3 separate regions of the Homo sapiens genome follow, and all the other regions are linked to region 3. Evidence: promoter capture Hi-C in human tissues and cell types (Jung and others, 2019). All regions are on one chromosome and are shown on one strand. Each heading gives the region's core, a stretch centred on a gene start or on the middle of the fragment in contact. The rest is flanking DNA. Distances are from core to core; before and after follow the strand shown. Region 1 overlaps PRDM5 (PR/SET domain 5). Region 2 holds the start of PRDM5 (PR/SET domain 5). Region 3 holds the start of NDNF (neuron derived neurotrophic factor).

Evidence for each region. The method cuts DNA at HindIII sites, captures the fragments that hold promoters and counts their contacts. A contact is called where the count stands out against the background at its distance.
Region 1: a contact is called between a fragment that was not itself captured here and the fragment with the promoter of NDNF in region 3, in 2 of the 25 tissues and cell types used here (mesendoderm cells and stomach).
Region 2: the fragment with the promoter of PRDM5 here is called in contact with the fragment with the promoter of NDNF in region 3 in 1 of the 25 tissues and cell types used here (ovary).

What each region holds. Positions count from the first base shown.
Region 1 is chr4:120,900,828-120,904,562 of GRCh38, reverse strand. The region is part of intron 2 of PRDM5 (PR/SET domain 5); the gene reads left to right. Among named protein-coding and RNA genes, the nearest start is that of PRDM5, 20 kb to the left of the region's middle. The HindIII fragment of the contact is 6,197 bases long and covers 1-3,735 here.
Region 2 is chr4:120,921,075-120,924,965 of GRCh38, reverse strand. PRDM5 (PR/SET domain 5) reads left to right here and starts at 2,240. Exons shown (of 16, transcript NM_018699.4): 1 at 2,240-2,450. The coding sequence starts at 2,358. LOC105377399 (a long non-coding RNA gene) reads right to left here and starts at 2,030. Exons shown (of 2, transcript XR_001741804.2): 1 at 1,639-2,030. The HindIII fragment of the contact is 5,313 bases long and covers 1-3,891 here.
Region 3 is chr4:121,070,707-121,074,341 of GRCh38, reverse strand. It overlaps NDNF (neuron derived neurotrophic factor), which reads left to right and starts at 1,807. Exons shown (of 4, transcript NM_024574.4): 1 at 1,807-2,349. NDNF-AS1 (NDNF antisense RNA 1) reads right to left here and starts at 2,980. Exons shown (of 3, transcript NR_187407.1): 1 at 2,762-2,980; 2 at 478-592. The HindIII fragment of the contact is 5,612 bases long and covers 1-3,635 here.

The sequences.
Region 1 (3,735 bases), core at 825-3,324, 170 kb after region 3:
ACATTTTTATGCTCAGGTAATGGTACACTCACACGATTGCCATTCTCTGTTTCATTTTACTTCACCCTTTATGTCTGTGTTTTGAACAAGTAATATTTTTACTTGTTACACAATTCAGAAGGTACAAAAGGGAATTGATGAAAAGTCTCTGTTCCCTTCCAGCCTGTTTTTTTCACCTGAGACCTTTTGATACATTTAACCCCTTAGTTCATATACCTTCCCCCTCCCCTTCTGGTTCTTTTTCCTCTTGGTCTCGTCTTCATTTCGGATTGTCAGCCATTGTATTAGTCTGTTGTCATGCTGCTAATAAAGACATACCTGAGACTGAGTAATTTATAAAGGAAGGAGGTTTTTTTGTTTTTTTTTTTTTTTTGAGAAGGAGTCTCCCTCTGTCACCCAGGCTGGAGTGCAGTGGCACGATCTCAGCTCACTGCAACCTCCATCTCCTGGGTTCAAGAGGTTCTCCTGCCTCAGCCTCCCAAGTAGCTGGGATTACAGGTGCATGCCACCACACCTGGCTAATTTTTGTATTTTTAGTAGAGACGGGGTTCTACCATGTTGGCCAGGCTGGTCTTGAATTCCTGACCTGAAGTGATCTGCTGGCCTCGGCCTCCCAAAGTTCTAGGATTACAGATGTGAGTCACCATGCCCAGCCAGGAAGGAAGTTTAATGGTCTCACAGTTCCATATGGCTGGGGCAGCCTCACAATCATGGTGGAAGGCAAAGGAGAAGCAGAGGCATGTTTTACATGGTGGCAGGCAAGAGAGCTTGTGCAAGAGAACTCCCGTTTATAAAACCATCAGACCTTGTAAAACTTATTCACTACCACGAGAACAGTATTGGGTAAACTGCCCCAATGATTTAATTATCTCCAGCTGGCCCTGCCATTTACACATGGGGATTATTGCAGTTCATGGTGAGGTTTGGGTGGGGACACAGAGGCAAACCATATCAGCCATTCCCTGCTCTGCCCAGTTGTGCAGCTGGACAGGGGAAGGGACAGATTCTGTGGTAGGTCTTCTAGAGGGAACATTTCAAGAACAACACTTTTAGAATTGCAGAGTTATTGCTTGCTATCTTTAATCTTGTCCCTTATTATGTTGAGTGAGCAAGCTGCTTCCAAACCCTGAGTTATACCATTGAAAGTCCTTTATTTTTTTATTATTTTAGCTTTGGAGGTGCTAGGATTCAGAAAGAGCACAGATACAGGAGAATAACTGGTCCTGTTACTGGTCCTGCTTCTGCCCCTTGTGGAACTGTTTGAGTCTTTCCAAAGGGAGATAATGAGCCTTCCCTCCTCTGGTGGGTAAATTTAGATTGGTTATGGGAGTCATTTCTGCTATGCCCCATATCTATGGTGCTAACCACAATGAAGCTCTCAAATGAGTAGTCCTTCTCAAAAAAATAGTTACATATGTTGTGGTTATGGAACATGAACCAGAACCTGGTGGTAGTGTCTGGAAAATGATGTCATGTGAGAGAGCATGTGGCATAACTCCTTCTCAGTTTATACCTGTATTCTGCTTATGATGCCAGTGGTTGTGGTGGACAAGGCCAAGAGCCCCTGGGGAGCCATTTCATACCAAAGAACTTGGAGTTACCAGTCAGGATTGAGCCTCCTGGTAGGTGTGAGCCTTTGTGAGCTTGGGACAGGGTATGAAGGGATCTTAGGGTCATGGGGAGCACTAATAATATCTACTGCCACCTCTCTCTCTTTGTCCAAAGGTGCAGCTTAGAACTTACTGATGCCCACTGCTTCAGAGTGCTCACTAGTACCTCAGTTACTTTCTGTATTGGCCATCAGGTTTTGAGCTTGGTCTCTGAATAGACTGAGTGTTGTGGGTCTTTAATCCTTCTTGATCACCTCAGATTTTTACTTTTCTTTTAAAATTAAGTGCTTAAGCAGAAGAACTCTGGATTTCTTGGGCCTCAGGCATATTACAAAGCTTGAGGTTAGGAACCAGTGTTTGACTGTAAATGCTTCCCTTGGACAATTTGGTGGAATATACCCAGTTTTCTGCATTGTATTCCATTCTTCTCTTAATTAGAAGTCTTTCTGTCTACTTTTTGCCAGGTGGTTTGGAGCTTGAGATACATTTCCTTCAATTCTCTACTAATTCAGACTCATTCTATGACCTATGACCTATGTTCTATTTGCTAAACTCTCAATAATTCTTTGTTTTTACGTCTCCAAGACATCCTCTTTCTATAATATTTTCTTAGATATTTCAAACCACAATTCAAGTACGTTTTCTCCAGGCACTGGCTCTGTGCTTCCAGCATATAACTTTACATTTTGGCACCTGTGGAATGCAGCACAGTTTGTGCATTTCCTTGCTACCTGTTCTGACCATGATTTAGTTGTTCTAAAGTGGCTACTGGTGAATCCAGTAGCAGCTGGAATCCTCCAAACAGCTCTTTTCTATTGGCTCTGGGCCTTTCTTTCCATTTCAAAAGTGATTCTCTGGGATGCTTGCAACAGGTTTTGTGTAGAAACTGCCCTGATAAGTTCTCAGAAACTTGGTGTTGTCCTATATTTCCAGTGGAGTCATTCATTCTTGAACTTTACAACTGCTCCAAGATCACAAGGTCTCTGCCTCACTCTCCTCTTTTTCTCTCACTCATGCTGAGTCTGCATTTGCCTCTTAGTCTTTGAACGTTTCTGTGGATGCAGTGGGTGTTCAGTGGTGTGATCTGATGCAAGTGGAGTCATATGCTATGCCACAGTTCAGTACACTGGGTGGTCCCTCTGGAAAGACAGCTTTTACTGTGTGCAGAATCCTAAAGAACCAGATACAAACTAAAATTTCAAGTAAAATATCTTAATTCTGGGTGGCATTTTCATAGGAAAAATTTAAGCCTCTTTTACTTAAATACATTATATCATCCATAACTTATGCTAAAAAGGTATTTATCTCAACACAAGGAACATTAGGACAAAACCAAAACAAATAGAGGTTGAACTTTGCTTTTTTAAAAAGTCTGTGGCCTCGTAAGGGTTCCAGATGTAACACAATGTGGGATACCCAGAGCACTGTGAGAGCCGTGTGCGTCACCTGCAGCAGCCTGACTTAATGGCATTTAAAAAGTTTTACATGCATTTATTTTCCTACGTCTGTCTCCTGGATCATTCATGAGAAAACTCTATGTTTTACATCTGAGGTTAGTGTATTACCAGGGTAATTAGTCATTACAACCTACTAGAAAATTGCATATTACAAAATCCAGAGGATCAAATTATCATGATTTTATTTATTTTTGTGGGCAGTTTCTGATTTTGTGGACTGGATAAATAACATGTTTTCAAAATATAGCCATCATGGTGGGAACAGGGTGAGGGATAAAAGACTGTATATTGGGTACAGTCTATACTTCTTGGTTGACAGGTACACTAACATCTCAGAAGTCACCACTGTAGAATTCATCCATGTAACCAAAAACCACTTGTACCCCCAAAGCTACTGAAATAAAAACAAAAAATTTAAAAATTTAAAAAAGGATGGAAGCTTGTACATAATCTATCACTCGTTTATTTAAATACATGAGGACATATATAAAAGTGCTTAATGTACCTAAAATAGAAGTGAATGGGTAACAATAGCTGTCTCTAAGGAAAAGGAATGGGTGACAAGAAATAGAGGAGAGAGGGAGACTTTTTTATTACTATATAATCTTTTTACCTTTAAATTTTTATTGTGTATGGGCATTACCTGTTGTGTGAAACAAACTTTTTTT
Region 2 (3,891 bases), core at 991-3,490, 150 kb after region 3:
ATGAAATACACTGAATGTGTCAATTGTAACAAAAATATCTGACCAAGCTTCATAAAATATCTGGAAAGTTTCTCATCTTATTGATTTCAGATTTATCTTTAAAATTTTATTTATATACTTTCACCATTTTCTAATTAGTAAAGAAGCCTACATTCAGAGAGGGGCATTCTCAAGGCTGCAGCCTTGCTCCCCAGAAAGACAGCATGCAACCAAATATTTGAGAGATATGCCTAAATAAGGATCCCTAAATAAGGATTGTTTCAGACTAAAACCAAAAAACGTTTTCCTCTCCAGCGATCAAAAGCTGTGGAAATTCTCGTGCCCAAAGAGACAGTGGCAGAGCATTTGACTGAGAGCCCTGGATGGCTTAAGGGTGGCTGGAAGCCTGTGTTTGACAAAGAGCTGAATGCTCCAGGAAAATGCCAGGGCCCCACCTTCTGGACTGTGGGCCCAGTGGATCTGGTCTGGCATGGTTTCAGCCCTGGTTCTAAGGAACCCTGGAAAACCTACTTAGTCCAGTTCCTTGTGAAGCACAACAAAAAGTCAAGTAAATTCTAGGCTCACCATAGAATTTTTGAACATCTCAGATCAGCCTCAGAAGTGACTTTCATTCAAGACATATTTAATGAACACCTACTATTTTTCAAGGCCATGGAACTCCCAATTCCCCCAAAAGAGAGTTTTTGTTTTTATTGATTTATTTTCCCCTAGAGAAGTTAGAGATCTTCCATGGGAAGTCAAAGGTATCAAAACTCACAGAGTGGCTAAGTGTTCCTCTCCCTGCTGTGAAAGCTAAACTTACATTTCTTAGAAAGAGGATCATGTCATCATTTACTGTGTTCCTTAAAGTCTCCGAATATTGCCACTACATGATTTTTTTTTCCCATAATGCCTTTTGTTCTTGTTTTTTAAACCTTTTTCCAAACTTGAATCAAAATCTACATAGGGGCCGGGTGTGGTAGCTCAAGTGTGTAATCCCAGCACTTCAGGAGGCCAACGCCGCCGGAGGATCCCTTAAGCCCAGGAGTTCAAGATCAACCTGGGAGACATAGCTAGACCCTGTCAAAAAAAAAAAAAAAAAAAAATCTGCTTAGGAACTATGTTCCAAGGGTTTCCTGCAGAAACAGGAATCGTTTCCATGGTGTGTGTGTGTAGTCTGTAATTTTGTCAAACTTTTGTGTGTGCTTTTAATGGTTTATGAGAACATCAATTAAGAACATCAAATGGTTTCCGAGAAAAGACCCTAGAGTAGAAAATTACCATAAATATCAAGAGAAATGAGTAGATGACCCCAGGATCACTTTGAAGGATGAAACAGGCTTTTAAAGGTCCTGGGCACACTGCACAGCCTAACAGCTTATTAAAAACACTAAAACAAGACTTGTGACTTTATTGCATTGTTGTGACACCAGATGCTATTGTTTGGGTGTCCCCTCCTGTCTCCCACAAATCCACTTCCGTATGTCTGAAAATCCGTAATACGTCTAATGATTATCAAGCAAGGGAGGTCTCAGGAATATTGTACCTTGAGAAGTATAAGAACTTCCCAGAGGTTATGTTACCATAAAATATCTAGTTTCTAGTGCTTAAAACATTAAATTGTTTGCAACATATTTTTCCGTACGTTAATCAACATACTTTGCGATCCCTTATTAAGTTCTAGCCTCTGCAACAAACGTGAAAAAAAGCAAAGACGCATAACTCAAATGTGAGAAGCACGGAAATTTCCTAGACCGCAGGGTTCGTTCTCAGTAGTCGGCAATAAGCTGGCTTTCAGAGTCAGGAACTTGATAAAGTTGTTTTGGAGGATGCCCCAGCTGTGTGAAGGTCCATTTCGTTTTGCATCTGAAGAGAAGCAAGCGAGACTCCCCTACAGGGAGTAATGGTTCAGCGGGGCAAGGTTTGAAAACCCAGAGCTGGACAAAGGCGGGAACGCACGCCGCCGCGCCGGGGCTAGGGGTGCTGACGGCCCGCGCAGCTCGCGGGCCTCCGGGTTTGAGGCCCTGGGGTCAGCCCTGCTCCGGGCTTCGCGCCCGGGCGCGGGTCAGAGCCGCCAACTTCGGGCCAATCAGCGAGCGGCGTCCCGGCGCCCGCAGCGCCCAGGCCCGCGCCCCCCGCGCCCCCGCAGCAGGAATGGCAGGAACGGATCCGGGCCGAGCCCGACCCGGGACGAGGAGGGGCTGAGCCGCGGGGGATCCTGGAATCGGCAGGGAGGTGGGGATTCTGGGAGGAAAACTCCATTTCCTCCTTCCCTGCCGGTTTCTCCCCTCTACCCTGGCACCCCAAATTTCGATGTGCCGCCTGCCGGGCGCTAAGCGCCGGTGTTGAGAGAGGCGGCGGCCGCCGCGCCCGGGAAAATGCTGGGCATGTACGTGCCGGACAGGTTCTCCCTGAAGTCCTCCCGGGTTCAGGACGGCATGGGGCTCTACACGGCCCGCAGAGTGCGAAAGGTGGGTGACCCGGCGGCGGCCTGCGCGCCCCTGCACCTCGCGCGCCCTGTGCCTCCCGGAGTCGCCCTGCCGCAGGGCCCGGGGCGCGGCGGGCTTCACCCCGGTCGCCCCTCGCCCGGGCCGGGCCAGGCGTCCGTGGGAAGGCCGGGGACCGCGGGGCACGGCGGGGGTGGCCTTTACTCGCTGCGCCACCCGAGCAGGCAGCGCCACGTAGGTGGCGGCGGGGTGCGCTCCGCTGCCGGCCGGTCCAGGGGCGGAACTGCCACCGGCCTCCCTGCCGCAAGATGTCTTTCCTCTCTCCCGCAGGAAGTGAGCGCGGCGGGAGCCTCCCTCTTCCTCGGTTACGGGTGTGAGCTGCGTCTTTGCGTTGGCGAAGGCACGCGTGGGCGGGTGTTTTCCCCCGCGCGCACGCTGCTCCGCTGTCGCCTCTTTTCCTTTAGGATGAATTAATGTGGCTAGAAACGCCTAACTTTCCATGCGGGGATGGGAGGAGCAGCCCAGAGCGCCGCTCCACGCAGGCCGTAGAATCTCATTCATACGCCCAGGATTTCCTTCCCTCCTTCTGGAATGTATTATATGTGCCTTCAGGGAGGTGCCAACCAGATGATCTTTGAGTGTCTATACCTTTTTTCTCCGCTCTTTTTTTTTTTAATTTGTCTCCAACATCGGTTCGATCTCTCCAGCCAGAAAGTTACAGGCATGTGATGAGAGGAAGCACATTGCTCAGTTCGTACAGGAAGGGCCTGAAAGTGTTGGATGTTGAAAGCAAAGGCCTAGGAAGAGAGGCCACAGGAAAAGTCCAGCTCTTTGGATTTGATCTTATAATATTATAACTTGTTAGAGTCGTCCTAGCCGTCCTCGCCCCCTTTTCTTAGTAGATATTTTGTAAGATGGAGGTTTGGGCAAGAACAGGCTTGTTCAGGTAAGGTATGTTAACAAGAGGTTCAGAGGATGCAGTAGAGACACTAGGGTGCCTTTCATCTGCATATAACCCTCTCCCCTTTGCCTCTGACCTAAAGAGCTGGTGAAGAGTAGTAGAAAGTGCTAGTAATCCCCAAAAAGGGCTCCACTGACAACATGATCTCCAGTCATCCTTCAGGGCAAAATTGGAGAAAATAAACCACTTATTTATTTTTTCAAGTGGGAGTTGGCGAGAATGTTCAAATGTTAAAAACAGGAATAAATAATTTATCTGAATTAGAGGTGTATTGAATAGTTGCCAAATGGCCAAATGTTAAAATCAACATTTTTTGAAGGCCAAATACAACCATCACCAAATGACGTCTGTACAGAGTTGAAATTCTCCTTTTAATTCATTCTTAAAAGATGTGAAAAATTCTCAAACAGACCTTCCTTAAAGGTTTCTGGCTTAAATTTAATTACTTTAAAAATTAAACACAGATCTTAAAAATCATTTTATTTAATGTTATGAAGAGTACTG
Region 3 (3,635 bases), core at 558-3,057:
ACTTACAAACCTTAGAATCTGTCCTAGCTTAACACCTTTAACAGTTTCCCAACTACTCACCACCTCCAGGCAAGTTCTGGCTCCTTACACCCAGAGAGCCTTGTGTGGCTTGGCCTTGCTTACTTCACCTGCAGTCTAGCCGCACCTAGTCTCCTAGTTTCCAGGACACACCATGTACTTTGACACTTTCCTAACCTCTTCACTTGCTTCTGTTTGTGGAATGCCCTCCCCCCTCCACCACATCCTTGTTGGCCTTGTATTTCTTCCTTGTCTTTCAGAACTCTACACTGAAATCTCTACCAAGAGAAGCTTCTGAAGGGGAGTTAGCTGTTTCCTTTTCCATGCTTCCACAGGACCAGGTACCTGCACTTATTATAGTGCTAATCACATTTTCATTTATGCCTCTGTCTCCTCACCAGGCGGTGAGTTCCTTAAAGGCAGCACCATCACCTCTAAATCTCAGCACATAAGACATACCTGGTACACAGCAGGGACTTCGTAAGCTTTGTTAATGAATGACCCAGGGATCTGCTCTAGATCGTATCTCCTAAGTGGAGATACAATGAGGACTTTTCTCACCTCATTGTCTCATCTGCAAAAAATATGCTTGCACAGTGATCTGAAATGTCCTTTTCAGTGTTTAAAAATTTTACAAAACTATTTTATGTCGTGTAAACGGTTTTATAAATCCATTTCCTGCAGTGTTTTCATCTAGGAACCACAAAACTTTAGGAGCTGCATTGGTCCACCCTCTGTGACCAACTGTTTAGCAAAAAAGATCATAGTTCTTAATATGACCGGGATAAGGCTGATTTTCATCCTACCTACCTTAATTTCATTGTGGCAATAACAGAACTAGTGTTTTCAATACTGACACTATATCTTAATAAATAATTATATATTATTAGAACTTATATAAAACCAGGTTTGCTGGAAATCAGGTTCTCAGTTGCAAAAATGAGATCACCAAATCATTCGGTACTTTTTTTTTCTTGGTTTTCCTAAGCCCAGGCCAGGTTGCTAATTAGGTAACTTTTTATCATAATTACCTAGTCAGCCTTAATGGCTTCACACACTCTGCTCCGTTTCACTGGTCCTGTAGGGCCGCTTTTTCAATTGTTAAAACAGCTGCTGAGTTTCAAATCGGAGGAGGCTCGGTCTGCGCCGAGGGGGAAGCGCTCCCTGAGTGAAGGCTGTGATAGGCAGGCGTTCGGGTGAAAAGTGGGACATGAATGCACAGTTTGCACACTCTGCTTTCCGCCTCCAACCACCAACCTTCTGGATTTAACACGTCCCCCTCCCTGCCCCCAGATCAACCCCAGAGTTTCCCTCTATTGTGCACCCCGGTCTGCTTGACAGTGTGATGGTCCCGCGTGCGCGTCTCCTGGGTTTTGCAGCTTTGTCGGGGGCTCGGTGGGCCTCCTTCATTCTCCCCGAGTGGCGCTAAGGTTAGGACAGCAGCGTGTCCCTCGCGATGCCGCCCGCGAGGGTCCTGTTTGGGGAGCGCTGGGTCGCTGAGCAGGGTGGTGTGTGTGTGAGAGAAAGAGAGGGAGGGAGGGCTACAGGGAGAGAGAAAAGGAGGGAGAGGGTGTCTGTGTGTGAGTGTGTGTATGTGTATGAGTGTGTGTGTGTGTGTGTGTGTGTGCGTGCGCGCTGGCGCGCAGCGGGAGGGAGAGAAGGAGGGACGGAGGGGGAGGCAACGGGCAGAGGAGGGAGGGGGCGGGCGGGCAGCGGTGAGGCGGGAGGGGTTAGGGCTGGGAGGGGAAGAGACTCCGGGCTTCAGCAGTGACACTCGGGAGCGAACACACACTCCCCACTTCCAGCCGCGAGAGAGTGGAGCTAACTGAGCAGCGCACCCGCCACGGCCGCTGCCGCCCCGTGCGCCCGGCTCTCCCAGCACCCCGCGCGGCGCTCCAGCCAGGCGCCTGTGCGACTAGCGGCGGCCGGCGAAGCCCGCGCCAGCCCCGCGGGTCGCTGCGGCATCCTCCCGCCGCCCAGCCCCCGCACGCTCCCTGCAGTTTAAAAGGACCTCCCGCCGCTTCTCGGCGCTGCCCCGGGATTCCCCAGCCCCGCGCGGCTCCCTACTCCACTTCGCAGCAACTTCGGCGACCGCGCGCCGCCCGCCCTCGCCCGCCTTTGAAGTTTGCTGTGCCGACCGCAAAGTTGGGACACTTCAGCGGATTGAATTTTTCTCTTTTATCTGCCTCCGTCCCCGCCCTCCAGGCTTCTCGTTCCTGGATATTGGTGCTTAGCATCTTGGCAGGGTCCGGGGACGTGGACTATTTCGCACACCACACCACGGGGAGGGATTTTTTTCTATTTTCCCTACGAAAAACAGATCTTTTTAAGGTAAGTGGGGAGAGGAAAGCAATGCCCCAGAGACCCGACGCCTTAGCCCGCCACCCTGAGACCTAGCACAAGGAGCGTTCACGCCCGAAGGGTCATCCGAGATGGGGGCTCGAGGCACGCGCCCCCAAATCTTCAAGGCCCAAGAAGCTTCTCAAGGGCGCCCTATCCGTAGGAGCTGAGGGCATGAGGGGCAGGAGCAGGTTTCCCTCGTTTTTTTTTTTTTATTGTTGTTGTTGTTTGTTTGTTTGTTTGTTTTTAATTTAGCTGCTTTCGAAGCTGGGCGGCCCGGAGAGATGTGAGGAGGTGGACAGACAGCGCAAGGGCGGGGAAGACCTGGGACCCGGGAGCTCGGGGTGCAGTGGGGTCTGGGGAGCCGCGGAGCCTTTATCCCGGACTTAGCCTGGACACTTACTTTGCCCGCCTGCCAAGAGGGCTGTTGCCTCCCTTTCCAGGTTCATGCCCTCCGCCCGCCGCTAGGGAAAGTCTGCGGGACTGGGGTTTTGCAGAGGGCGTCTGCGTGTAGGGCGAAAAGCTAGAGGTCCAGGCAGCGCACGAGTTCTTGGTGGGCGTCTGGGAGCTGCGCAGCCGGGGCCGGGAGTTCGGTTGGCCCGACCCCCAACCGCTCTGGCTCCTCATTTGTCCTCTGCGTGGTAGGCGAGCATCGTTATAGAAACTTCCTTGGGCTGAGCGAGGTGGCCTGGGACCGGCTCATACTTTCTTCCGGAGAGCAGAGCGGCCACCGAGGTGACGCCCCCTACGGCCCCAGCCAGGAGACTCGGCTTCGTGCCCTCGTCCTGTCTGTGCGTGAGTTGGGGTTCGCTCTCACCCGCGCTACCTTTCTAACTGAGCGGAGTCGCCGCGGCCCCGATAACCTAGGAGTCCGAACGAGTGATTGCAGGTCCCAGCTGTTTTCTTGGAGGCACTTTGCAAACTGCTGAATTTGGAGTGCGGTTTCGTTGCATTGTGCGCTCTCGGTTCACCTTTCTGCCCGCACCCTATCCCAGGCCCAGGCGTGAGAGCTCCCGGCAGTTCCCCGGACCCGCCCCGCATCAGCTCCTCGGAGTTTGCCGCGGGCACCTCTACGCTGTCTCTGAGCTGTCCCTCCGGCCAAGTTGCGGTTCCCCTCCTGGCCCCCTTCGGGGCGCTGTCCATTTCTTGCTCTTGGGTACGGGTGGCTCCCTAAAACCAAGACCTTGAGCGGGAAATGAACCTGAGTGTATGTCTGGGTTTTGTTGTTGTTGTTATGTTTTTTCCTTCTTTTCTTTAAATTTATTTACAGAGTTCTT